7 separate regions of the Homo sapiens genome follow, and regions 2, 3, 4, 5, 6 and 7 are each linked to region 1. The links are contacts of gene promoters, found by promoter capture Hi-C in blood cells and fetal thymus (Javierre and others, 2016). All regions are on one chromosome and are shown on one strand. The core of a region is centred on a gene start or on the middle of the fragment in contact, and the rest is flanking DNA. Distances in the headings are between cores, read along the strand shown.

Region 1 (3,952 bases), core at 655-3,154:
AGCACAGTGCCTTGCACATAATAGTATACAGCATAGTATAAAGCCCAGAAAGAGGAATAATTATAAGTGGAGAAGTGTTGTAACAGAGATACGAACAAAGTGCTGCAGTTGCAAAGAAGGAAGTAGTTAAGATGTGATGCAAGAAGTTAAAGTCAGGAAAAGAAATGAATTTCCAGGGTTCAAATTGTCACATTCTGTATAATGTCTCTATTTTGATACAGCTGTACTTTATATCTGCTTCTAATTTATAAGACCTGGAGTAGAAGTCCTAGTAAATATGTTCTCAAGTAGAGATGCATGAAAAACATATTTCTCTTGAATCTTATGATCATTGTTATCACTTGCTTTATCTCCACATCACTGTAAAGACATTGGGCCTCCTACCTCAGCCCAACCCTCTTCAAAAGATTTCAGGCCTATACTACAAGTCAAACTTTTCTTCCTTCCATATTGCCAGATCTGCTTTCCCTGAAGCTGAGATTAGGGGACAATGACTTTTGATCCCTTTTAACTCTCAAAGGATAATGTTCTTTTAAGATGCTGTCCCACATGTTCTCATTATAATGAGTGGTTTATGGAAAATTACCTTGGTCCTATAATTTCTGTCTGATGCCTATCTTCTCTCCTGCTGATCTTTAACCAGGTGATCCACCCCAACACAGGTTAGGGAACATTGCTCTAGCTATGTTCCAGAATAGATTTCTTCTTCTTCTTCTTTTTTAAAAAAAATCTCCTTTACCCCTTTATTTGTCAGGAACACTTCAAATAAAACCTTCTTTTGGGATTTGCATGTGTATGTATGTGAACAAATTGGGTTCACTTAAAGGAAAAGAAAGGGGGTTGGCAAACTGTCATTATCACTAGTTATCTAGTGAAAGCCTACAGAGGATGCAACAGGAGGAAAGATGTAGATAGTATGTAACTGCGTACCTTTTTAATCTCAGAATTTTAAATATTTAACACCATTGCCATATAGTTACATCAGTGACTGTTAATCAGACCCACTCCCCCCCAAAAAAACCCTTTCCTAAAGCAACCCCACTGAATGAAACGGACACAAATAAAAAGGATTGTCTGGTGTACTGACTTCCAAGAACTATGAAGTGAAAAAAAAAAGAAAGCGATTTTAAAATTAAAATAAATATTTTCCTTTTAAACCAAAAGCTTGCTTCATCCATTGATTCATCGAATATTCATTGGTACCCATCTGGGAGGCCAGCTTTGCATATTTTTCGAGAGCTCCAGCTCTGAAGGCAGAAGGATTCTACTTCTGCCATGTACAAGCTTCCTGTCCCCAGACACGTTACTTACCTCCGTGCCTTAATCCCTTCATCTTTAGCGTTAATGTAAATATTAGAATTATCTCACAAATTGTAGTCAGAATTAAAGATAATGTATGTATGGTGCTTAGGAGTACTTGAAACTACATCAGTACACTTAGTCTTTACCTTAATTTTCTTTCAGCACCACGGTCAACGTCAAATATCTGGAAGGACATTGAAATATCCTGAAAGTGAAATTGTATATGACTTAATTAAATTCTATTTAAGTGTCTCCTGTAACTCTAACTATAGAAACAGGGAGACGAATAACCAGAGTAGTCAGAACCTCAGCATGGGTAGGGGACAAATCCCGTCCTTCTTCGCATTCTCCAAGGTGACTTACAGAACGCTAACGCCTTGCATACGGACAGGCGCCCCAAATTTAAGTTCGCCGTCATCTTTAAAACCCCCAGGGAGCTATGGGCCCGGGTCTCGGCTAGCTCTAAGGTCCCACCCTCGCTGATCTCAGGTTACCCAACCCTCCTCTCGGGTTACCCAACCCGGCCTCGCAGCAGTCCTCGGGTCTTCGGCCCCTCCCGCCCCTCGCCGGCGGTGCCCGCCGAGCCGGGCTGTCCCACTGCGCATGCTCCTCGCCGCGCGGTTGGGGAGCGCCGGGGCAGGGAGGCGGGCACCAGGCGCGGGTCCCTCCGGGCAGGGGAGGTAGGCCTGGGCCTGACGCCGGCCACGCAGCGGCGGGAGAGTGAGCACTCGGGCGGCGGCGTCCTGGAGACCCGCGAGAGATGGAAGCGGCGGCGACGCCGGCGGCTGCCGGGGCGGCGAGGCGCGAGGAGCTAGGTCGGTGTTGTGCGTGGGCAGGGAGCCGGGGCTGACGTGGGCGGGGGTCTGTGCGGGAGTCGGGTGCGCCCACACCTCCAGGGGCCCCGCGCTTGGCCTGAGTTGAGGCCCGATTGCTAACTGACCCCGTGGTCAGCATCCGCAAAGGAACCGGTTATCTGACCCCGAGAACTTGGTCAGACGAAGCCCAGGCCTGAATAGGGCGTTAAAATATGTGTGTGTGTGTTTGCGCGCGCGCGTGTGGGTGAGTGTGTGTGTTGAGTGGGGCGGGGCCCTGTGGGTACACGTCAAAGACGCAAGAGCCTGCGCCGTGACTCACGGTTTTTTTCCCAATGATGCTTTAAGGAAGTTATCATTGTTCTGCTTTTCAAATGCTGCAGCCCCATTCGGAATCTCCAGATGAATCCTCATTTTACTCCTTGTTATCCCAGAGTTTCGAACAGGTCGTGCTGACCAGAATGAACAGGAGATACCTGTAGCTTGCTCACTTGGCAAAGTTTGTTTGTTTTTTGCTGCTTTCCTCCCATCTTGTTTCTTGGCGACAGGGCGTGTTTGTTTACGGTTTCCCGCTGTCCAAAATAAAAAAGTAAGGATCAGGGTGGTAAAATGATCGCTCTCCCAGTTATACGTACTGTACTTGGGAGTATTTTTCATTCGATGCTGATTAAATGTAATTAAAAAATTAAATCTAAATGGAATCTTCAAGAAAACCGTTGAACTTTAAAAAATACCGTATTATAAGTAACTGATAGGTTGTTGTTATTCCTCTAATAGCCTGCAGGGCACTTTGCAATGGAATTGTTTTCAGGCCGTAATAATGGTAGAAACAATAAACTTAACATTTTATTGCGTGCTTACTGTGTGCAAACACTGTGCTAAGTGCTTTACCTATGCATTGTCTTTAATCCTCACAGCAACTGAGATAGGTGCTATCATGATTTCCATTTTATAGATACAGTAATTTTAAGCTTATTAATGGCAGAACCCAAATGTGAACTCAGGTTTCATTCATTAATAACCTGTCTTAGTGAGGATATGGAGAAATGGGTATTCTCATGCATTGCTGGCAGGAAAGGGATAATATATTTAGCCTTAAAAATGTACATATCGGCCTGGCGCGGTGGCTCACGCCTGTAATCCCAGCACTTTGGGAGGCTGAGGCGGCCGGATCATCACAAGGTCAGGAGATGGAGACCATCCTGGCTAACACGGTGAAACCCCGTCTCTACTAAAAACACAAAAAATTAGCCGGGCGTGGTGGCGGGCGCCTGTAGTCCCAGCTACTCGGGTGGCTGAGGCAGGAGAATGGCGTGAACCCGGGAGGCGGAGCTTGCCGTGAGCCGAGATCGTGCCACTGCACTCCAGCCTGGGCAACAGAGCGAGACTCTGTCTCAAAAAAAAAAAGTGCTTATCGTTTGACCCAGCAATTCTCCTTCAGAATATTTCCCGAGGAAATAAGTAATGTAACCCATACTTATATCAAGAGGTTTTCATTATAGTATATAGAGAAAAGCTGTTAACTAAAGTACAATGAAAGGAAATTGGTTAAATTGTGGTATAGTTTTACATTGCCTACCATTAAAAGTGATGTGGAAAGATGTTCAGCATGTACATTTTCTTTAACTGAAAAAAAGTTTCAAATTATTTCAGTTTTTTTAAGTTTTATATTTTCATTAATTCAACACATATTCATTGAGCTTCCCCTAGGCACTTGAGATACATCGTGAGCAAAACAGATAAAAATTCCTGTTCTTAATGGAGCTTGTATTTAGTAATGGGAAGCAGAGAGTAAGCAGTAAAGACAATAACCAGTTAATTATATAGTATGTTAGGTG
Region 2 (3,952 bases), core at 1,453-3,952, 510 kb before region 1:
ACAAGTTAATATCTCTGATGAATACTGATGCTAAAATACTAGCAAATCGAATTCAACAACACATTAAAAAGATCATTCATTATGACCAAGTGGAATTTATCCCAAGGATGCAAGGATGGTTCAATGTATGCAAAATAAACAATGTGATACATCCTATCAACAGAATGAAGGACAAAAACCACATGATCATTTCAATTGATGCTGGAAAAGCATTTGATAAAATTCAACATTCCTTCATGATAAAAACCTTAAAAAACTGGGTACAGAAGGAACATAACACAATAAAAGCCATATATGACAGATCCACAGCTAGTATCATACCAAATGGGGGAAAACCTGAAAGCCTTTCCTCTAAGATCTGAAACACAAGGATGCCTGCTTTCACCACTGTTACTCAACATATTAATGGTACTGGAAGTCCTAGCTAGAGCAATCGCACAAGACAAGGAAATAAAGAGCATCCAAGTTGGAAAGGAAGAAGTCAAATTATCCTTTGATACGAGCTTATATCTGGAAAAAACCTAAAGACTCCACAAGAAAACTATTATAACTGATAAATTCAGTACGGTTGCAGGATACAAAATCAACATACAAAAACCAGTAGCATTTCTATATGCCAAAAGCAAATCACCTGAAAAGAAATCAAGAAAGTAATCCCATTTACAACAGCTACAAAGAAAATTAAATACCTAGGAATTAACCAAAGAAGTGAAAGATTTCTACAATGAAACTTGTAAAAGATTGATGGAAGAAATTAAAGAGGACACACAAAAAATGGAAAGATATTCCATGTTCCTGGATTGGAAGAATCTCAACATTATTAAAATGTCCATACTACCCAAAGCAATCTGCAGATTCAATGCAATCCCTATCAAAATACCAATGATATTCTTCATAGAAATAGAAAAAAAATCTTAAAATTTATATGGAACCACAAAAGACCCAGAATAGCCAAAGCTATCCTGAGCAAAAAGAACAAAACTGGAGGAATCTACCTAACTTCAAATTATACTACAGAGCAACAGTAATCAAAACAGCATGGTACTAGCATAAAAAGAGACACACACAGATCAATGGAACAGAATAGAGAACACAGGAACAATTTCATACATTTACTGTGTACTCAGTTTTGAGAAAGGTGCCAAGAACGTACATGGGGGAATAGAGAGTCTCTTCAGTAAATGGTGCTGGGAAGACTGGATACCCACATATGGAAGAATAAAACTAGACCCTATCCCTCACCATATACAAAAATCAAACCAAAATGGATTAAAGATTTAAATCTAAGGCCTCAAATTTGAAACTACTAAAAGAAAACATTGGGGAAACCCTCCAGGTCACTGGTCTGGGCAAAGGATTTCTTGAGCAATACCCCACAAGCACAGGAAACCAAAGCAAAAATGGACAAATGGAATCACATCAAATTAAAAAGCTTTTGCAAAGCAAATGAAACAATCAATAAAGTGAAGAGACAACCAATAGGATGGGAGAAAATGTTTGTAATTACCCATCTGACAAGGGATTCATAACTAGAATATATAAGGAGCTCAAACAACTCTGTAGGAAAAAATCTAATTACCTGATTAAAAAATGGGCAAAAAATCCAAACAGACATTTCTCAGAAGAAATACAAATGGCAAACAGGCAAATGAAAAGGTGCTCAATCAACACCAGTGATCATTAGAGAAATGCTAATCAAAACTACTTTGAGATATCCTGCCAGTCCAGTTAAAATGGCTTTTATCTAAGACAGGTAATAATGAATGTTTTGCAAAGATGTGGTGAGAAGGGAACACCGTTGGTGGGAATGTAAATCAGTACAGCCACTATGAAGAGCAGTTTGGAGGTTCCTCAAAAAACTAAAAATATTACTACCATATGATTCGGCAATCCTGCTGCTAGGTATATACTCAAAAGAAAGTAAATCAGTACACTGAGGAGATATCTGCACTCCCATGTTGACTGCAGCACTGTTCACAATAGCCAAGATTTGGAAGCAACCTAAGTGTCCATCAACAAACAAATGGATAAAAAAAAAGTGGCACGTATCACAATGGAGTACAATTCAGCCATAAAAAGGAACAAAATCATGTCATTTGCAATAACATGGATGGAACTGGAGGTTATTATGTTAAGTGAAATAAGCCATACACAGAAAGACAAACTTCACATGTTCTCACTTATTTGTGGGAACTCAAAATTAAGACAACTGAACTCACGGAGATAGAGAGTAGAACAAAGGTTATCAGAGGCTGGGAAGCGTAGTTGGGGGTCGTTGGGGGAGTGGGGATGGTTAATGGGCACAAATAAGCAGTTAGATAGCAAAACAGGGTGACTATAGTGAATAATTTCTTTGTACATTTTGCAATAACTAAAACTATAATTGAATTGTTTGTAATAAAGTATAAATGCTTGAGGTGATGGATACCCCATTTACCATGATGTGAATATTACACATTGTATACCAGTATCAAACTATCCCATATACCCCATAAATAGATACACCTACTATGTAGCCACAAAAATTAAAAATTAAAAAAAGAATAATCTGTTTTATTTTAAAATGTCAAAAATTATAGCTCACTGAAAATTATATCCTTTACAGTTATTTTAATCCACAATTTAAAGAGATGTTAAAGTCAATTTTTTAATAAACCCTCAAAAGAATATCCCTTTCCTTCATCTCTCATTCCACTCAACTATAGATACAAGTAAGGTATCTTGTATAGATACAAGTAAATTATCTTACTAGGTGTACAGCTAAAATAAAAATAAATCTGGCTATAAAATGTAACTTCTTCTTTTTTTTTTTCAGATGGAGTCTCGGAGTCTCGCTCTGTCGCCCAGGCTGGAGTGCAGTGGCTTGATCTCGGCTCACTGCAAGCTCTACCTCCCAGGTTCACGCCATTCTCCTGCCTCCCTACAGGACTACAGGTGACCACCACTACACCCGGCCAATTTTTTGTATTTTTAGTATAGACAGGGTTTCACGGTGTTAGCCGTGGTCTCAATCTTCTGACCTCATGATCTGCCAGTCTTGGCCTCCCAAAGTGCTAGGATTACAGATGTGAGCCACTGCACCCGGCCAAAATGTAACTTCTTAAAAGATGCCTTACAACTAATAAAATAGTACTACAACTATACTTTGTAGGATCAGTACACAAATTATATATAAAATATCCTGTGCTATATATATATACATATATAAATTCAGAAGCGAGAAGATTAACATTGGCTGTCTTTGGGTGTTAGGATTAAGTGATTTAAATATTTTTCCTTCTAATTATCTTTATTTTTCCAAATATTTAAAAATAAACATAAAACAGCTTATTTAGAATGCCCACAGATAGAATTTTTAAAATATTTAACAGTATTTAATTAGATATGGATTGTTACAAATAGGCTTAAACATAAAATTTATGGATGCTGCCAATTGTATAAAACTCCTACCTTGATAAACTTCTTACTGGCATTTAATAAAACAATTTAAAAGCAAAATTACTCATTTAACAACTGCATAGAACAATATAGTTAACTGCATCATAACGATTCCATTAACAGCAGTAACTAAGTTTATTTACCATTTTTCACCATTACAAATAACAAAATAATAAATATCTTTTGTCCACATATCCTTGTGCATACAATTCCACTTTCCATTTATTTCTCACCTGCTTCATCATAGTCATCACCACAGACATTCTCTTGGCCAACCAGTTGAAGACAACTAAACGGATCATGGGCCAGTGGGCTCCCAAAGAAACTTTGTTCTCGGCTTATTGAGACTCGCAGGGGGTCTCTGTCTTCATAAATACCTGGTTTACCTGGGGGGGAAAAAATATTTCCACTTCAATTTCTGGAACTATTAATAGCTAGAACTAAAGTGCCAATTTATATTATGGGTAGAAATCTAAGCTCTTAAAGACTTACTGTATATAGCAATAATTCCTTA
Region 3 (3,952 bases), core at 455-2,954, 490 kb before region 1:
AGATATGAAAAGAGGGAACCAGAATGACTATAAGCTTTTTGGCTTGAGCAAGGGAATTAACATATTGCCAGATACTGAAATGTGGAATACTGTAGGAAAAGCAGGTATGTGGTGGGAGGGGATATCAACAGGTCACTTCTGAAGAAATTTAAGATATTATTAGATATACAAGAGAAGGAAACAGTTAAATAAGTAAGGTGAGTTCAAACAGGAGGCCAAAAATAGAAATGCATACTTGGGAGACATCAGTTTACAGATGATAATGTAAAGTGTGACATTTGAGATCAACTAGGGAGTTTTGATATAAAGAGAAGGGACTTGCGGAATGAGCTGTAGACTAACCAACGACTAACAATGGTTAGTCATTATGGAGATGTGGATAAACAGCGAAGAAAATGCAAGAGAAAATAGTAAAGTACGAAAACCAAGTGAAGGTGCTGTCAAGGGGCCAAGGGAAGAAAATACTTCAAGAAGGCTTCCTGTGGGACTCAGGATAAAATCCAAAACCCAAATATAGACCACAAGTCACTCTTATCAAAAGCATAGAAGCAAAACATTTCTATACAAATCCAATCACATTTTTAAAATCATCCCAATCAAGGAGATACTTGAATTGTGTGTGAAAAGATACTTTGTAACTTCTGGAAATATAGTTAATAGCCTATTTTTCCAATCAGAAAAGTATTTAAAATTAGCAAATAAGAAACTAAATACCTAGTGGGAATACAACACGCTCAAAAGCCATTAACATGCTCATATATCCTTTGATCAGGAGTTATTCTTTAAAGAGTCCTTCCTAAGGAAATAAAGATGTGGGCAAAGACTTCACTAAAAGGATGCCCACTGTAGCACAAAAATGCCAAGAAAAATTAGAAAACAGCCTGAACATCTCAATAAGGAACTGGTTAATTTTGATTCATTGATTACTTTGCAATTAATATATATAAATAACTATACTAGATTAAAAGTGGTCCGGAAGAAGATTCACTAAGGCTTTTATAATGTTTCTTTGTTGCTTTTAATTAGCAGGATTATGTTTTGTTCCTTTTAACCTCTATTCTTTGATTTTTCAGAAACGAACCTACTTTTGAACAACTTAAAAGGGTTTATAGAAAATGAGACTCTTGGAGAGAAATACCTTGTTCCTGCCCAGAGGATAACGTTCTCTCTTTGCTGGCAATTGTTCCTGACTCAACCGTTGGTGCTTTACTCTCAATTTCACTAACAGTCGTAATCATTTCACTTTCATCCTCAGACATAGATTTAATTGTCCAGAGAGATTTTTGGCTTCGGATCTTATTTAATAATTTTTTAAAAAGAACTTTTGAAGGAATCTGTTGGGTCTTCATTACCAAGGGAACTAAAAGAAAGAAAAAGGGAAAAAACTTATTTAGCATCTATTGTATTACCAGGCAAATTGTTCCATCTTATATTCGGTTACTGCTATAACCACTAGTTAAAAGCACAGTTTTATTTTCCTCATATTTACGATTTAACAGTATATACAACAATGCTATCTGACTCCAATCATTATAACTAGAAATAATTTTTTCAACTGAAAATAGTAAAAGTGCCAAAATTCAAGTATTTTCCAAAAACATGTATGCAACACAAATATCAAGCCTAAAAAACTTATCAGGAAGATGTTTATTTTGCTTGCTAAATGATAAATGAATGTGTAACTTCTAATTAATTTGCTGGTAAGATTAGTATTGAAAATATATGCTGTGAGGTTCTATAGTCTACACTAGAGAATGGTCCCAAATATGGCTCTGTATTTCTTAGTGAGCTACAGAGGAAAACATCATAGCCATAAAAGCAAATCAACTGCTCCCAAATTATTCTTGGCACTATCTGGGAAAAATGTCTCCCACCCATCTTCACACAGAGATCCCTTCAGTTAAAAACAAAAACAAAAAAACAACACAAGTATTTCTTCAAACATTTTCCCATGTGGGCTGATAGTTTAATGCCAAAACTCAGTATAATACGAACAGTTCTCTAAGAGGACAAAAGTGTGATGCAAGTACATATTTCTCTGGCTTAGTCAAGGAATAAAATTTAAGAATATCTTTAAGAGGTTGAAAATAGGCAGATTGTAGTTTTGTCTAACTTATATTAAAAAAAATTCCAATTGAGTTATAATTCACAAAGAACAAGGTGCACAAAAACCTAAGTGTATAGCTTACTGAATTTCACATATGTCAATGTACCACCTTTCAGATCATGTGGAACATTACCAGGACTAAGGTTCCTTCATGTCCCTTCCCAGTCAATACACCCCTAAAAACAGCCCCTACTTTAACCCCAAGATCACAGATTAGTTTTGCCTGTTTTTTTAAAACCTTCATATAAACATGGAATCACACATTTAGGTATTATTTTCTGCCTGGCTTCTTTCATTTACCATTAGTCCACAACCCACTCATTTTTAAGAAGTAAATTCATTGCCAATATTTAAAAGTAAGGATTTTTAAAAACAATGAGATTTCTAGCTTCAAACAAACAAACAAACAACTTGGCAACACCAAGCCAATAAGACCAAATGAGATCAGCAGGAGCTAAAGTGTAACTGTCCCTTTAGATTGGGCAAGACTTCCATTGTGACAAACTAGATATTGATACTCCCAATGAAAATAACTGAAAAAGCTGCATGAAAGAGTAAAAATATCTTTTTTTTTTTTAAGATGGAGTTTCACTCTTGTTGCCCAGGCTGGAGTGCAGTGGTGTGGTTTCGGCTCACTGCAGCCTTTGTCTCCCAGGTTCAAGCGATTATCCTGCCTCAGCCTCCCATGTAGCTGGGATTACAGGTGAGCGCCACTACACCCGGCTAATTTTTGTATTTTTGGTAGAGACAGGGTTTCACCATGTTGGCCAGGGTGGTCTTGAATTCCTGAACTCAAATGATCCTCCCACCTTGGCCTCCCAAAGTGCTGGGATTACAGGCATGAGTCACCGCACCTGGCTGTAAGAATATCTTTTTAAAGACACTGCTGGCCGGGCATGGTGGCTCATGCCTGTAATCCCAGCACTTTGGGAGGCAGAGGTGGGCGGGTCACAAGGTCAGGAGTTCGAGACCAGCCTGGCCAACATAGTGAAACCCCGTCTCTGCTAAAAATACAAAAATTAGCCAGGCATGGTGGTGTGTGGCTGTAGTCCCAGCTACTTGGGAGGCTGAGACAGGAGAATCACTTGAACCCGGGAGGTGGAGGTTGTGGTGAGCCAAGATCGTGCCACTGCACTCCAGCCTGGGCAACAGAGCAAGACTCCATCTCAAAACAAACAAACAAACAAACAAACAAAGACACAGCTGACCTGGCATGAAAAGAAAAGGTTCTGCAGAGGACAGAAATGAAATTTAAGTGGAAAGCTTGGAGGGAAGGCAAGTCAGCCCTGAAACCATCTTCTGCTAAGCTTATGCCAAAGTCAAAACACAGTAACCTTAAGCTGCTGCTGCTTTTTTTTCCCCAGTTGCTGGTAGTAACCTTAGGCTTCCGTTTGGACAACAATGTAGGCATAGGAGACATGAATAAGGCCTAGAGCCCTCACTTGAGGAGTCTAATAGGAGGCCTACATAAAGTTGGAATCCCAAAAGGCTACGTTCACGGTGTAGGGTGAAGATGATAAGAAAGCCTGGGTGGTTTTAAACAAAGGAAATACCAGTAGATATGGGAGGCCTACATAATAGGAGGCCTACATAAAGTTGGAATCCCAAAAGGCTATGTTCACAGTGTAGGGTGAAGACGATAAGAAAGCCTCAGTGGTTTTAAACAAAGGAAATACCAGTAGATACGGGGCAAAAATAGCTGAATTCCATGAAGAGGACTTGGTCTTTAAGGAGACATGCAGGTAAAAGGAAAGTATTAAAGGTAACTCCCAGTGGTCTGGCTTGGGTAACTGCAGACTGTGATACCATTCACTAAGATAGAAAAGACAGGTAGAGACAGTTTTA
Region 4 (3,952 bases), core at 489-2,988, 440 kb before region 1:
GGCTACGTGGTTGATTTCGTTTTATAAGGTCTAAAAGAGATCCATGTAATGAGAGTCCACCCCGGCCTTCCCATATGATAATGCTTAGTTTATTCAAAGGTGACCCTAGTATCAAGTAGGATTATATGTTCTGAGATGAGATTTTGTTAAAGGTTTTAACTTAGAAAGATGAAATCAGAGGTCTCAGGACATGACATACCACTACCCAGGTGCTGAAATCATCAAAAATCACAATGCTTTTCCCTGGGCCTATCTTTCCTCTCTGAAGATCAAGGTGTGTTGGGGCTGGAGTCAAACCTGGCAGTCTGTCTGTATGAAGTTGCTGTATGTGGTAGGAATTCAAGGATGTGTGAATCAGTTATGCTGTAGTAACGAATGAGACTCCCAAATATCAATATTTATAACAATAAAAGTTTATTTCTCACTCCTATTTCCAGCATGGGCCAGTTGCAGCTGTGTTCCACATCTCTGTGCTGAGTCCAGGCTGATAGGCCAGTCTCTTCCTGAAGCATTCCCTGTTGTTGAGACCTGGGGAAAAGAGATGGCAAGCCATGCTCTGGTTCCTAGTGGCACTTCTCACTTTTCACTGGCCATGTCAGCCTTAGCTACTCTGGAGTTCAACAGGGAAGGCTTCTATAATCCTCACAGAAAGGAGAATCAGAATATTTGGTGGCAAGTAAATCTAGTCTACTGCAATGAGTCGAGGGTTTTGAGGAACACATTTGGGATCAAAATTCAGGGGTCAAGTACAATGCATGACAGCAGGGCCATAAATGAAAGGGAAGACCAGTAAGGCTACAATCCACCAGAACTGAGGAGCACAGGGATTCGGAGCAAGGGTGGGATCAAGTGGGACTGTATGGACACCCTGGGCAGTTTGTGTTCCCTGATAGGTGCTAGCTGGGACATGGATGAGCTGGCTGGCTTAAAGGTTCACAAATGTGCAGACTTTGGGAACACAGCTTGTTAGGGTCCATCTGAGTAGTGTGAGCTGTCCATCTGGTGTTTGCTGACCCTCATTGCCTTGTTTTCTGCTCTCCACACTGATCACCCTGGGGAAACTGAGGCAGCATGTTATACCAGTGAGGGTTCTAGAACATTTCCCAGGTCTATGGCCTTAAGAGGATCATTTTTGGACATCGAGTACTTCTTTCTTAAAATAGATAATTTATATTGGACTTATATAATAAGTCCAATTTATATTGGACTTATTATATGAGTCCAATAATTTATATTGAAGGCTTTTAATTTATATTAAAAGCCTTCCAACCCACTTTAAAGAACTTTTGATTTAAAAAACCCATTAGGAGAGCCTTGCAGATAGCTACTTGTCTGGGATAAATGGTGATATATGAGGAGAAATAATCAAGAATGTTAAATTAGCTTTGTTTTTCTATTACTTGGAGCAATATCAAGGTAAACTCTGCTACCTAGAGGAAAAGACAAAGAATCAGTGCAAACAGGAACTTGGATTAGGCAAAGAAGCACAGGATCCAATTCTTCCCCTTTTAGACCTTGAGAAAAAGTGTAAGTGAGTTTGGTTCAGCAGTCTTTACCGCTCCTTTATTTAGTGTTCATCTCACGAGTTTGGAAACTGTGCCTCCTCTGCCGTCTTGCATCCCACTCAATACATGTACTACCCAGATTTGCCTCTCAAGGCCTGTCTCAGTGTCCCAAATCTTTTTCCCACTATTGAAATTACCGTTTAATTTCCTTGTTTAAGAGCACTACCTGAGGAATCTGTGAATAGACTAACTCAGAATAAATGACTGGTAACCAGTCAATATGTTACTCTTCCTAGGAAAATTTGCATTTAAAATCTTCCCAAGGACAATGCTTCAACTAAGAAAAGACTGCCGTAATGGTGCAATATGAGGCAATGCAGCTTGCCAGTAGGGGAGTTGTTTTGTTAGGGGCCCTTCCCTGGTTTATTTCTAGTCTCTTCTAAATAACCTGTATTTATGAGCACCCAGCTTGACAAACAATTCAAGCAGCCCAGCTGCTGGTGGCTTCTGCATAGTACTGTACCACTTTTCTTTTCTTTTTCTTTTTCTTTTTTTTTCTTCTCTTTTTTTTTTTTTTTTTTTTTTTTTTTGAGACAGAGTCTTGATCTATCCCCCAGGCTGGAGTGCAGTGGCATAATCTCGGCTCACTGCAACCTCTGCCTCCTGGGTTCAAGCTATTCTTACACCTCAGCCTCCTGAGTAGCTGGGATTACAGGCGCCTGCCACCATACCCGGCTAATTTTTGTATTTAGTAGAGATGGGGTTTTGCCATGTTGACCAGGCTGGTCTCGAACTCCTGACCTTAGGTGATCTGCCTGCCTCAGCCTTCCAAAGTGCTGGGATTATTGGTGTGGGGCACCGCACCTGGCCCCTGTACCACTTTTCTTCAAGATAGTTGTGAATCTGGGTCTCAGGTGTCTATGCCTGCATGGTCAGGAAAAAACTAGTCATTGTAACACTAGTTATAATTTATCATCAGCCTTCATGATTTCCCAAGCACTTTCACGTGGATTAACTTTGTTGATACTCAAAAAGCCTATGATGGAGGCAGTGCAGGTTTATTATCCCCCATTTTATGGATGTGGAAACTGACAGAGGGATTAAGTGACTTACCTAATTAGTTTCTCTATACCCAATCCAGTGATCTTTCTTCATGTAGTGCTGCTCCTTCAGCCTCTGGCACGGCCTGGACTGCTGGTGCTTAGAGTTTGGATCAGGCGGGTGAAAGTGCAAGATGGCAGGGCCACATCATCTGTCAAAGCCACTGATGTTTGGTATACCTAGGACATGGCCACAGTGTTTTGCCACGGGGCATCACCTGGTGGGGGAAGGTTCCTATATTGGTATTCTGCATCTGTATGGGTATTGATTTATTTCTCAAAGGGCTCTGTCTGCCATCTATCTAATGATGTTACTAATCTTCATCCCAGTCCTTTGAGGATTTTTATCCCAGTGCTTCAGAGGTGCCGGTTTCCAGGGTTACCAGAAATCCATAGATTAAAGCCTTTCTCCAGCTTTCTTGTCAAGGTCCTTATCAGTAGAATTTTTTTCATCATCTTCATTTTCTGGATGGTGTGTCTCTTACAACTTTTCTCTTTTACTTCTATCTGCAGTTAGTCTGTGAAGAATAATCCCCGAGAAGCTGCTTTGTGCAGAAGATGTAAAATAAATTATAGACACTGTGTCCTCAATGATTGTTTAAACAAAACCCAAACAACCCTACATCAGGGCCAATGTTGTGAGGTGGAAAGTGCTCTGCTTTTGAAACCAGCAGATCTGGGGCCTGTGGGACCCATCTCAGCTTGTCAGTAACTAACTGTGTGGTCCTGACCTAGTCCCGTAATGGCTCCTGGCTGAGTTTGTTTTAATAACTGCCATATTGGTTTGGGAGGCTTTGATGAGATGATTCTGTCAGACAGGGCTTCTCAAACTTTAATGGGCTTTGGAGTCACCTCTGAGAAATCCAGGTTAAAATTCAGATTCTAGGCTGGCTCATGCCTGTAATGGGCTTTGGAATCACCTCTGAGAAATCCAGGTTAAAATTCAGATTCTAGGCTGTGGCTCATGCCTGTAATCTCAGCACTTTGGGAGGCCAAGGCGGGTGGATCACTTGAAGTCAGGGGTTCCAGACCTCCCTGGCCAACATAGCGAAACACTGTCTCTACTAAAAATACAAAAATAATTAGCAGGGTGTGGTGGTGTATGCCTGTAATCCTAGCTACTTGGGAGGCTGAGGCATGAGAATTGCTTGAATCTAGGAGGTGGAGGTTGCAGTGAGCCGAGATCACGCCATTTTACTCTAGCCTGGGCAACAGAGAGAGATTCCATCTCAAAAAAAAAAAAAGGAAAAAAAAGAAAAAAATGCAGATTCTAAATCAGCAAGTCTGAGGTGGGGCCTGAGATTCTGATTTCTCCTAGATTCCCAAATGACACGACCAAGGTTGAGA
Region 5 (3,952 bases), core at 1,020-3,519, 420 kb before region 1:
ACAAGAAAGGATTCAGGGTGAGTCCATACAGTAAAGTGAAATCAAGTTTATTAGGAAAGTATAGGAATAAAATTATGGCTATTCCATAGAGCAGCTTCTAGGGCTGCTGGTTGCCCATTTTTATGGTTATTTCTTGATGATATGCTAAACAAGGGATAGATTATTCATGCCTCCCCCTTTTAGACCATATAGGATAATTTCCTGACTTTGCCATGGCATCTGTAAACTGTTGTGGTGCTGGTGGGATAGCAGTGAGAAAGGATGACCAGGGGTCACTCTTGTCGCCATCTTGGTTTTGGTGGGTTTTGGCCTGCTTCTTTACTGCAACCTGTTTTATCAGCAAGGTCTTTATGACCTGTATCTTGTGCCAACCTCTATCTAGTGCCAACCTCCTGTCTCATCCTGTGACTTAGAATGCCTTAACCATCTGGGAATGCAGCCCAGTAAATCTCAGCCTCCATCCTATTCAAGATGGAATTGCTCTGGTTCACACGCCTCTGACAAAATCTCAGCTGGAATTGTAATCCCCATGTGTCAAGGGAGGGACTTGCAGTGAGTGAGATCTGGTTGTTTGATAAGTGCGTGGCACTTCCCCACTCTCTCCCTCTCTTTTCTGCTGCCATATAAGACATGCCTTGTGCCTCCTTCACCTTCTGCCATGATTGTAAGTTTCCTGAGGCCTCCCCAGCCATGCAGAACTGTGAATCAATTAAACCTTTTTCCTTTCTAAATTACCCAGTCTCAGTTATTTCTTTATAGCAGTGTGAAAACGGACTAATACACAGCCCTTTTTGGAGACATCCAACACAATGGTAAAATGCATTTGAACTGATGCTTAAAAGTTTGTTCCAGGAAATTGAGGATTGCCAGTATTATTGAATGAATCTGGATAAACCAATGATAATTGATAGTGATAACAAGTATAGCTACTCTTCATTAAGTGCTCCCTTAGTGTGTGTTAGGTGTGATGTTAGGTGCATCATTTCTATCTTCTAGAAAACAGCATGGGAAGGATGGTATTGTTATACCCATTTTACATATTAGGAATCTGAGGCTTAGAGACCCAGTAGTGCAGGGGTTCCCTGCAGCAAGCCGTGAAAGGTGCAGAATGGGGCATCCTGCCTCCACTTTCCTCAAGTATCTAGCCCTCCAGAATGTCCCACCTCAGGTCTTCCCTGACCTGGGCCACACCAGTCAAGACTCACTGCTTCCTTTCCCTATCTGAAGGTCTCTTATGTTCAGACTCTTTCTAAGCCTGCCTTCTGCTCACTAACAAAAGGTACTAACAGGTTTTTAGTTAAACTTCTTCCATCAAATATGTTGCTCCTTTAAGTTGACAGCTTTGACTCACCCAGTTAAAATTTTTCCTTAAGAAAGTACTTAGCCAAGAACAGGCAGGAGAGAATTTTGAAGAATTTAGAAAGTACAAAGAGCTGACGATTAGCCTCCACCATTTGGAGGAATGGCTATACCAGCAGGATGGGTTATGAATAAATGCAGAAGGAATGGACCCTTTGAAGAATGGTTCTGGACAACCAGCCATACATATGAAAAAGCACAAAATTAGATTCCTACTTCATACCATACACAAAAATTAATTTCAGGTGAATTAAAGGCTTAAATGTAAACAAGTGAAGAGGATATGATATTATTTCTAGGACCTTAAGTGGAGACGAGTATTTCCTAAATTAGACACCAAAGCTCAAAACATATTGAATAAACTGATTAACTCCAATTATATTAAAGCTTAAAACTTATGTGAAGTTGAAGATGTGAATACCCTACAGCCCAGTACTTGTATGGTTATTGGTTATGGATAGATCTAGAGAAACTCTCATACACAGGCATGAAGAGGAATGCAAAAGTTTGTTCACTGAAGCATTGGTTATAATATTAAAGAAATTAGAAACAGTCTAATTGTTCCACAGTAGGGGAATAGAAAAATGAACTGTGGTTTATTCATATAATGTAATAACATTTAGTAGTTAAAATGAATAAACTAGATTTATATGTAGCAACAGGGATAAATCTCAAAGTCATGCTGAGTAAAAAAAGCAAGTGCAGTGTATATACAGAATGATGCTTTTATGAAAATTTTAAAATGCAGGGAATGACATTAAATATTTTTAATATGGCTACCTGCATATGCAGAAACGTATCAAAACCACAGGAGGATACACACCAACTTCAAAACAATGGGAATGGGGGAGGGAACTGGCATCACAAAGCGAAGACTTCATTGTATTTTATGCTTTGTTTCTTAAAAAGGATTTGGGTTCAATGTGGCAAAATATTATCCTATGTTAAATCTGAGTAGGAATAACAAGTGCTTTTATTACATTGCTTACTGTATTTTTCTTACGTTTTAAACAGTTTGTGTTTTTAGAACCCCTAAAGAATGATAGCAAGGCTGTGAGGTCCAGGTAAATACGAAAGATAAAATTTGGAGAACGTAGATTGTATTTGAAGTTGCAGCTTGTGAAGTGCCTGGTGGCTTGCCTGGTGGCCCATCAGCCTGCCATCTCAGGACCATTTCCTTTGAGCCCAGCCCTGGTCCAATTGATAATGCTCCAGCCCCTCTCCTGCTTCCCCCTGACCTGTCTTTGGGGTACCCTCTGCAAGCAGAAAATAGGTTGAATGCTCACTTGTCTCTACTTACTGTTCCCAGCTACCCAAGCTCATTCCTATTTTCCTTTTCATGGTTAAAAATTCAAAAATCCGAGGTGAATAATGAGGATGCTGTTGAAGAAGGAGAGGAATTCCAAAAGGTCTCACTTCTTAAAAAAGCTTTATGTTTTTCAAGGCTGTGTCATCTACATTATTTCAGTGGCATTGCATGTTAACCTTGTAGACAAAGCAAGTATTTTTATTTCCATATAACTGATGAAGAAACTGAGTTATTGCAGAGCTAAAAATCATTAAAATAATTAGTGAGATGGCTGAAACAAGAAGCCAGTCTGAAGTCCCATTATATAGGCTCTTCATAGTGTAATGAATTGAGTGTGGTGTGTGACTAACATGGTAAGTACAGGTCTCCAAGGGGGCGTTGGGTTGAATTGTGTCCCTACAAATGACATGTTTAAGTCCTAACCCCAGTACCGTGAATGTGACCTTATTTGGAAATAGGGTCTTTGCAGATGTAATCAAGTTAAGATGAGGTCATACTGGGTTAGGGAGGGCCCTAAATCAAATGACTGGTGTCCTTTTAAGGGAAACACACAAACACATACACACACACACACACACACACACACACACACACACAGAGGGAAGAAGGGCATATGAAGACTGACGCAGATTGGAGTAATGTAGCTATAGCCAAGGAACACCAAGAATTGCTGGGATCTGCTAGAAGCCAGGAGAGCAGCTGGGAGATGATTTCTCTTTCAGAGCCTCCAGAAGGAACTAACCCTATGGCCACCTTGATTTAGGACTTCTGGCCTCTTGGACTATGAGGTAATAAATTTACGTTGTTTTAAGGCACTGAATTTGTGGCAATTTGTTACGGTAGCTTTAGGAAGCTAATACAGTCACCCAGGCTTGGGGTGATCTCAGACAAGGTAATGCCTCAGCTGAGAACTGAAGGGCTAGTATAGGGATGGTTTGGGGAATGTGTTCAGCCACAAAATATGGAAAACCCATCCAAAGTAGCTTAGACAAATAGGGTTTGTTTCTTTCCCATAACAAGAAGTCCAGAGATAAGCAGTGCAGGACCCTTGCTTAATGCCATGGAGGACCGGGTCCTTCCTGTATTTCCACGTTACTATCTCTAGGTTGTTGGTGTCTTTTTTTTCTTCTTCTTCTTTGAGACAGGGTCTCACTGTTGCCCAGGCTAGAGCACAGTGGTAAGATCATGGCTCACTGCAGCCCTGAACTTCTGGGCTCAAGCAATCTTCCTGCCTTAGCCTCCCAAGTAGTTGGCACTACAGGCATGCACCACCATACACAGCTA
Region 6 (3,952 bases), core at 970-3,469, 350 kb before region 1:
GGGAATTGCTAATAATACTGTGGTTTGTTACCAACATTCATAAATAAGCAACCATGAATGGAAGTTAGTACAAACAAAGATATAATTTTTGCCCATCTGAGTTTATACACAGACTTATTAAGAACTCCTGCTCTGGGATCAATTGTTTCTAATCCATTTTCAGCCATAGACCCCTTTGAGAATCTGATCAAAGCTGCCTGTAGACCATCTCACTGGGAAAATAAACTCATCAGCAGATATAAAAATTATATCTTATCTGTTGAACCCTGACACCCACCCATGAACCATGTCCAAGTCTCTGGACCTCAGATTAAGAACTTCAGTTTTAGATGTACTATCAGCAAAAAGCACTGTCCCATTTAGAATTCTTTGCCTGTAAATAACAGAAATGGACTTTGGAACCATGTGGTTTTAGAGGCTTTTTGTAGCAGAAGCTCTGGACAGTCTTGTCTACATCCCATGCCTGGAATGAGTAAGCTCCATCTGTGGCCAGGCCTTTGACGTTCTGGTCACTGTTGACACATCTGAATAGTCTAGCTTGGGTAGGGTGTCCCTCAATCCCTTCACTAGGGGAAAGTTGCACACCTTGATGAAATAACCCAGCAGGCTGTATATAATAAGGAAGAATAATTTCCTAAAAGGAATTTGAGGCACTATTACAAAAAAAAAATTAAATTGATGTGGACATGAGGTAGGCAAAAGAGAAAACAAAGTCCTGTTAAAAGTAATAATGTGGGCCAGGTGCGGTGGCTCACGCCTGTAATCCCAGCACTTTGGGAGGCTGAGGCAGGTGGATCACCTGAGGTTAGGACTTTGGGACCAGCCTAAACGACATGGTGAAACCCTGTCTCTACTAAAAATACAAAAATTAGCCGGGCTTGTTAGCGGGTGCCTGTAATCCCAGCTACTCAGGAGGCTGAGGCAGGAGAATCGCTTGAACCCGGGAGACAGAGGTTGCAGTGAGCCGAGATCACGCCATTGTACTACAGCCTGGGGAACAGATCGAGACTCTGTCTCAAAAATAATAATAATAATAATAATAATAATAATAATAATAATAATAACGTGGCTGGGCACGGTGGCCTACGCCTGTAATCCCAGCACTTTGGGAGGCCGAGGTGGGTGGATCACCTGAGGCTGGGAGTTTGAAACCAGCCTGGCCAACAGGGTGAAACCCCATCTCTACTAAAAATACAAAAATTAGCTGGCTGTGGTGGTGCATGCCTGTAATCCCAATTACTTGGAAGGCTTGAACCCTGGAGGAGGAGATTGCAGTGAGCCGAGATTGTGCCACTGCACTTCAGCCTGAGCGACAGAGTGAAACTGTGTCTCAAAAAAAAAAAAAAAAAAAAAAGTAGTGATGAGTACTGACTTTTTTTTAAATTATAAAACATACTTTTTGGAAACATTTTAGTGTTTCCAAAGTCAGAATATGGCTCTATGGCTCTCAATATATGTAAACATTGAAAGCAGCCATTTTTCACCCCTCAAAAAGTAAACTGTTGTTCAATGACTGTTGCATCTTAGAGTTGAGGAGTCTCAGAACCTAGGAATTGTGTCCTTAACAAAGTCAATCAAAGCGATACCAGATGGATTCCTTCAAGTTTCAGGAAGTACTTCTACACCAATGCTCTTCATACCATTTTCTTTCCATCTCTGCACTTCTAAATCATGCTTACTTTGCCTAATTTGGCTCTTATTTCACATCAGATGTTTAGTACACTACTAAATGCTGAAAATTCAATCCCATTAAACAGGTGTTTGTTGAATGGTGGCTATGAATCAAGTTCTCTTGTAGACACTATGAGCATTAAAAAAGGAGAGTTAGATAGAGCCATCCGCTCTCCAGGCACTGACAGTTTAGGTGCAGAGACTGCATATGCACAGGAACTAGCAAAATACTCACCTGGAGTAAAATACTCACCTAAGTGCTGCAGCTGAGGGGAGTCAGGAATTCAGAGAGCAGAGTGTGGGTTGGATAGAGAAGGAAGCCCCTGTGGAAGAAGCTGGGGACTCCCTGTCTTGCCTCTGCACCTCTGGGGAGACAGGGCCCCAAGACTCCTCTCTGAAAGCAATGATGCACCGAGAAGTTGCACTTCTTGTCCTGATCATTGTCCGAGACATAGAGAAGCCTTGGGTGAGGAGGACCACGTCCCCAGGAGGTTCCTCACTGGGCCAATACCTGTTCATCTCTTTGGTCAAACTTTCAGATCACTTCCAGAAAGGTCTTCTCTGACCTTTCAATATAAAACTTGTTCTCTTTATAAAACTTTCTCATAGAACCTTGTTCTTTCTCTTCAGCACGCTTAACATCATTTGTAAAATTTGTAATTATATACATTTTTTCTCTCCACTGATCTGTGAGTTTCTCTAGGGAAGGAAAGGAGTATATGTCTTTTTTGCTTTTATATTCACACAACTCGATAAATTGCCTGCATGTACTAGGTGTTCCGTAAATACATGTGAAGTGATTGAAGAGTTAAGTATAGACTAGAAACGTTCTCATTGCTTTCTGATAAAGATGAAGCTCCCTTGGGGAAAAAGACATAGTTGATAGGAAACACCTTTGATGTTAAAAAATGTGCCAGACCAAAAGGTACAGCTGGTATATGAGTCACTAATGAAGATCTTGTGGTTATAGGTTTGAAAGTTAAGGTAATTAAGTGTTATTTTTTACTTTGGGATTTAAAAATGATAGTGGGCTATTTACAGCCTATGGAATAAAAGTGGAGCTCCCCTGCTCCCTTCTAAACACACCAACAGTTCCATTTTTGTTTTTTCTTCTCTGCCACATACTTTCCCTGAAAAAATAAAATAAAAATAAAAATAAAAAAAATTCAGGGTCTCACTGTCACCCAGGCTGGAGTGCAATGGTGCGATAACAGCTCACTGTAGCCTCAAATTCCTGAGCTCAAGTGCTCCTCCTGCCTCAGCCCCCCAAGTAGCTGGGACTACCAGGGTGTGCCACCACGCCTGGCTATTTTTATTTTTTAATTTTTTAAAATTTTTTGTAGAGATGCGGTTTCACCATGTTGCCCAGGCTGATCTCGAACTCCTGAGCTCAAGCGGTCCTCCTACCTCAGTCTCCCAAATTGTTGGGATTACAGGCATGAGGCACCATGCCTGGCCGAGTTCCACCTTTAATGATACACCCTGGGGAGTTGTGATTTTAGTGTGGTCTTACTTTCTCAAGCAAAACCCCCCAAAATTCTGAAAGGAGTTAGAAGAGCATGAAGACAGGCATGTTAATGACGCTCTTATTTCTTTTGAAATAGAAACTTGACATTTGCCAGCAGGGAGAAAGTTGTGGAGAAATTTAAAGGGTTCACTGGTGTTCTTGGCTTGAGAGCATGCTTTGGTTGCCGGCAGCAGGGGTAGAGTAGGAATTCCTTCCCATTCTTTAGCTAGAGACTTAAATTTCAGAAAACAGGGCAGTAAGCATGAAGATTTGGGTTGAACTTTTCAGTAGCGCTCTGGTGCTTTTTTCAAACGAAAGCAGAGATCTTAAAACTTTTCCTTATATGGGATTTCACAGCTTTATGAAAATGGGCATGCTTACTTAATTTCCAAGAATAGGTATAATTTTGTTTGAAGTCTTTAAAAGAATTACTACCAGTGAGAAAAAGACATTTTTATTATAACACTTGATACTTACATAAATGTACAGGACTTCAAGCTCTACGGCTTCTTAAATCCAAGAAGCTGGTAGTTTTCCCTCTTAACTTAGGGAGGGTAAGTTTTACCTCTTGGCCAAACATGATGGTTTGTGTCTGTAATCACAGCACTTCGGGAGGCTGAGGTGGAAGGATCACTTGAGCCCAGGAGTTCAAGAACAGCCTGGGCAACATAGTGAGACCTTGTCTCAACATAAAAAAAAAAAAAATAAATAAATTAGTTAAGCATGGTGGTGCATGCCTGTGGTCCAAGCTACTGGGGAGGCTGAGGCAGGAGG
Region 7 (3,952 bases), core at 366-2,865, 300 kb before region 1:
TTTCCTCTGGAGCCCAATTTTAACTTTCCATATTTTCAGAATGGCAATTATCTCTTAGAGAATGGGGACTAGACTACATGCTGCTTTGATAAAGTCCAAACTCCTTTACTTGGCATTCATGACTCCTGAATAACCAACTCCCTTCCCCTTTCCAGTTCTGCGTCCCATCCCTCCCTTTTACATACCTTAATCTCTGGACTTCACCAAAATCAGTGCTCCCTAGTAGAAGAGGCTATAAGACATTAGGTTCTTAAATCCCCACAGTAGGTAAGTTTGTGATTGCCCAACTCAGGAACTAATGGAAAAATATGGCGAGGATAGAGGTCGGGCATACATCTGTGAAGCTCTTTGGGAATAAAAAAACAACAACTGTTTACATTTACTGCAAGAGAATATGAAGGCAGCACAGCAGCCAGTACCAACCACTAACATGAACAAAGTCATCTGAGACCATCTGGCCCAGTGGAGCAACCAGATGCCTATAGCCACATACATAAGCCAGGCAAGACCAGAAGAAAAAGCCCAGCTGAACTCAGCACTGATTGCTGACCCACCATACCTTGAAATGAAATGTTTGTTTGAAACAAAACAAAAAGCACGGTAAACCAAGATTTATCTTTACGTATTTTAGTAATGATAGGCATTGTACCATTACTCAATTATGTCTTGCTTGTTATGGACACTTTTTGGAGTCTCCCACCTTTTTACTTTCAAGGGAACTCTTATTTATTTTGCTTTATGGGTAATACCCATACTAAAAGCTCCTTTCCCCCAGTATCTGGGCTTCCAACTTAATATTTAATGCCACTGAGGTTTTGAGTTAATTTGTTGGCTGTCCTCTGTGGCTGTCACACATCTCTCTTCCTTTCCTCTCTGATGTTATGGGACGGTAGTTCGGATGCCTGGGTCACTTTCTCATCTTTTATTTTTCCCAAGGCTTTGGTTTAAAAGCCTCTGTTCCTTCACCTTCCGCGTTTGTTTCTTTTCTAATCCCAAACCTGTATCCTTCATTTTTAAATCAGTGATTTTTGATTGCAGGGAACAGCCATGGTCTCATGGCGGCTTAAGTTAGCAGCGAGTTTGTTGTAGAAATCCCAGGAATACAGGAAGCAAAGCTTGACTGCCTGCTGGGCACAGGAGTGGGAAGGCCCCTCTAACTCCATGCAGGGGCTGCTTGGTCCTGTCCATCACGCACATGCACACATGTGCCAGTGTATCTGTCTGTCTGCCCTTCTGGAGCAGGGCGGTGACAAGTGTCTATCCCTAAGCCAGTTGGGAGAGGGGAACCGTGTGACTGCCCTCTCAGCATGGGCTGAGGGGGTTCCAAAAAAGGAGTCTGTGGAGGGATACCTCCCCAGCAGCTATTATACCCTTTCTTCTAATTTCTCAACAGGAATAACTCAAGTCACCTGTACTGGAAATCAGTTTGCTGAAATTAATCAACGATTCTTGAAGTTGAAGAAAAGGTAAACATTCTCTTATAAGGGAAACTCATTGTCTGGGGAGAGGTTACTGTCCCAGTCATTTCTCTCATATGCCTAGTTTTGTGTGTAATATTTTACCCCTTCTCTCTGCCTGGCCAAGTTCCTCTTCATCCCTCAAGATCTTTATCAAATGCCACCTTTGTCCTTTGTGGAGGATCTCCTCCAGGCTGCGGGTGATTTCTCCTGCTGTTGAACCCCCACGACACTTTCTCCTTCCTGTGATGTTTGTGTTCTCGTTTGCCCTTCCCCTGATGGTCTCACCCTTCCTCTCTTGGCCAGTCGGGTAGAGGTCTGTGACACACCCCCCATCATAGTACTTACTTCCACGCTTTATTCTCGTTGCCTGTTTTTGTGTTTTCCCCAGTAAGCTGCTTAAGGGTGCATCTGAGTTGTGCCTGGGACACAGTCGGTATTCCATAAATGTTTCTCGAATGACTCATGAAGGAGCCTCTCCACAAGAGGCCTGCTCCTGTGTGGACCCACATTGTACCCCCACCACGCCTCCCTTACTGGGCCTGTACTAGGAATCATTCTTAAATACATTATGATCTTTGAGCATTCATCCGAAATTCCTGATCTTCGCCAGGTGTCCTTTGGCTATTGGTGAAATGAAGCTAATAGCAAAGCTTTTGTATCTGATACTTTTTTTTCACATTTGATTTTGGACCCATGTTAAGAGCAGGAATCCAGAAGTGGGGAGGGAGGTGACAGGCAGAGCTGGATGCCAGTGGTCACTGGAGCACAGCTCCCCAGCCCCCTTCTCCGCTTGTGGCGGGTGTGAGTGGGGGTTGCATGTGGGGGGCTTTAGGTCTCGCTGTGGTTGTAGCCCCTCCTATCTGCTGCACAGGTGGATCACCTTCTCCATCTGTGCCATGCTCTCGACTGCTTCACTCAGTGACTTTGTGTCTTAACCCACCTCCCTGCCCCCAACCTTTGTCCTTTAAATGAATAAGTCAGCAGGTTCCTTTTCTCAAACTGTTTACTGTAACTGCTAAAGATCCCATAAAAGTTTCTTATTAATTTTATGAGTTTATGCATCATAGCCAGAGGGACAAAGCATAGATTGTGGGTGTTCCCAGAGATACAAATTTCCAGAGATTGTTTTGCGTATTCATCTGCACATTGTTGTCTGGGTTTGACGTGTATTGGGCTTCAGTGTGAGGCTTTTAATATGTATATCCTGTTATCAATTAAGAAATTATCCAAGTGGTTGAATCCTGTGAGACTTCGCAAGTGTGTGCAAATCTAGTATACTTGACTTTTCAACCTCTTCTTTCAATGTAACTTTTATACAAAATAAATAATCAACTGACAGTTCTCAAAAAAAAGAAAATCAGTTTAATTGGTCACCATCATCTTGGAAGACTTGACTCAGCCCTTTCTGCCTAACAGTAACCAGCAACTGTCTCTCACATTTGTAGAGTGCTTTCTCTTTTGCAAGGTGCTTTGACACACGTCGGCAGATTTTCTTCTCCCACCAGTCCTGGGAAGCAGGCAGAGGCAAGTGGTAACTTCTCATTTTCAAAGTTGGGAAATAAGCTCAGAAGTTCAATGTCTTGCATAACATCATGAACTGATGTGAATGGGGTTCAGTTCCCCCCAACCATCTGATCTTGGTACCCCCCTTTGGAAGCCATGGCAAACTAACAGTGTCACAGAACCGTCTCTACCCTCAGTGTTCCTTTGAGGGAGGGGAGTCTTGACCTTCTGTTGAGAGTCTGACCCTGGTGCTCCCTCCACCCTCAGCCAGGCAGCTTTCTTGAAAAAGCAGATATGTTCCTCCTGAGACCTTCCAGTCAGTCTTGAAAGTTTTGTTTTTGTTAAGGCTAATTTAAATACAAGAAATTTAATTAGCTTACATGAATGCTGCATTGTCTTACTCTGAGTAAACTGGAAGACACTAACAGGTTTGATCAGCTTAATTCAGCTGTATCTGATGATGTTCTTTCGCTTCCTTCTCTTTTAAATCATTGCAAATGGTTTCTATCAGTCAAGGCAGCAGAGCACAGTGCTTTATTGCCATGTGGAATTGTTTAGTTAACTGTGATTTTTAAAAAATTGCTCAACTTTTAATGAAAGTGGATTGTCAGGTGACATTTTGATTTGTCCTTTGATGGGGAAATGGGAAAATAGAACCATCATAATAAAAAACCAGCTTCTATTCTAGAAGGGGGGCTATTAAAAGCAGGATGTGATTTCAGTGAATTGTTGTTTTCCTAAAACAGGCCACCATCTCTGGTCTTTTTATGTTGAGAGACCTTCCTCTGATACTCTCTTAGATTAACATTTTCCTGTGGGAAATTCTAACCTGGAATCCCCCAAACAGGTTACTCCCCATAGTGTAAGCGTTGGGGCCCAGGACCAGATACCAACACCCTTTTACTGGGAATCTGAAGCATCAGTATCGAGAAATCTGCAAGCCTATCGTGATGCTTGTAATCAAAGGAAACAGGCTTCACATTTTACTT

What was found. Contacts are between HindIII fragments. The CHiCAGO score rates a contact against its expected background, and 5 or more counts as called.
Region 2: a fragment that was not itself captured here is called in contact with the fragment with the promoter of SLC36A4 in region 1 in 5 of 17 cell types (total CD4 T cells, fetal thymus, monocytes and 2 more); the score reaches 6.2 in total CD4 T cells.
Region 3: a fragment that was not itself captured here is called in contact with the fragment with the promoter of SLC36A4 in region 1 in 1 of 17 cell types (non-activated CD4 T cells); the score reaches 5.4 in non-activated CD4 T cells.
Region 4: a contact is called between a fragment that was not itself captured here and the fragment with the promoter of SLC36A4 in region 1, in 14 of 17 cell types (total CD4 T cells, monocytes, naive CD4 T cells and 11 more). The highest score is 16.0, in total CD4 T cells.
Region 5: a contact is called between a fragment that was not itself captured here and the fragment with the promoter of SLC36A4 in region 1, in 5 of 17 cell types (M0 macrophages, M2 macrophages, monocytes and 2 more). The highest score is 9.5, in M0 macrophages.
Region 6: a contact is called between a fragment that was not itself captured here and the fragment with the promoter of SLC36A4 in region 1, in 3 of 17 cell types (fetal thymus, activated CD4 T cells and total CD4 T cells). The highest score is 7.1, in fetal thymus.
Region 7: a contact is called between a fragment that was not itself captured here and the fragment with the promoter of SLC36A4 in region 1, in 1 of 17 cell types (M0 macrophages). The highest score is 5.7, in M0 macrophages.

The regions. Positions count from the first base shown.
Region 1 is chr11:93,195,943-93,199,894 of GRCh38, reverse strand. It overlaps SLC36A4 (solute carrier family 36 member 4), which reads left to right and starts at 1,904. Exons shown (of 11, transcript NM_152313.4): 1 at 1,904-2,117. The coding sequence starts at 2,063. RefSeq lists a silencer at 1,763-2,142. The HindIII fragment of the contact is 1,801 bases long and covers 1,287-3,087 here.
Region 2 is chr11:93,706,617-93,710,568 of GRCh38, reverse strand. CEP295 (centrosomal protein 295) reads right to left here. Exons shown (of 30, transcript NM_033395.2): 18 at 3,672-3,824. Among named protein-coding and RNA genes, the nearest start is that of SNORA25, 22 kb to the left of the region's middle. The HindIII fragment of the contact is 2,535 bases long and covers 1,435-3,952 here.
Region 3 is chr11:93,685,052-93,689,003 of GRCh38, reverse strand. It overlaps CEP295 (centrosomal protein 295), which reads right to left. Exons shown (of 30, transcript NM_033395.2): 10 at 1,139-1,360. Among named protein-coding and RNA genes, the nearest start is that of CEP295, 25 kb to the right of the region's middle. The HindIII fragment of the contact is 3,336 bases long and covers 37-3,372 here.
Region 4 is chr11:93,640,542-93,644,493 of GRCh38, reverse strand. No RefSeq gene overlaps it. Among named protein-coding and RNA genes, the nearest start is that of CEP295, 19 kb to the left of the region's middle. The HindIII fragment of the contact is 6,443 bases long and covers 1-3,952 here.
Region 5 is chr11:93,618,162-93,622,113 of GRCh38, reverse strand. No RefSeq gene overlaps it. Among named protein-coding and RNA genes, the nearest start is that of CEP295, 42 kb to the left of the region's middle. The HindIII fragment of the contact is 1,041 bases long and covers 1,749-2,789 here.
Region 6 is chr11:93,549,555-93,553,506 of GRCh38, reverse strand. It overlaps a transcript of SMCO4 not described here. Among named protein-coding and RNA genes, the nearest start is that of SMCO4, 8.1 kb to the right of the region's middle. The HindIII fragment of the contact is 7,691 bases long and covers 1-3,952 here.
Region 7 is chr11:93,496,790-93,500,741 of GRCh38, reverse strand. It overlaps SMCO4 (single-pass membrane protein with coiled-coil domains 4), which reads left to right. Exons shown (of 3, transcript NM_020179.3): 2 at 1,394-1,466. Among named protein-coding and RNA genes, the nearest start is that of SMCO4, 45 kb to the left of the region's middle. The HindIII fragment of the contact is 995 bases long and covers 1,118-2,112 here.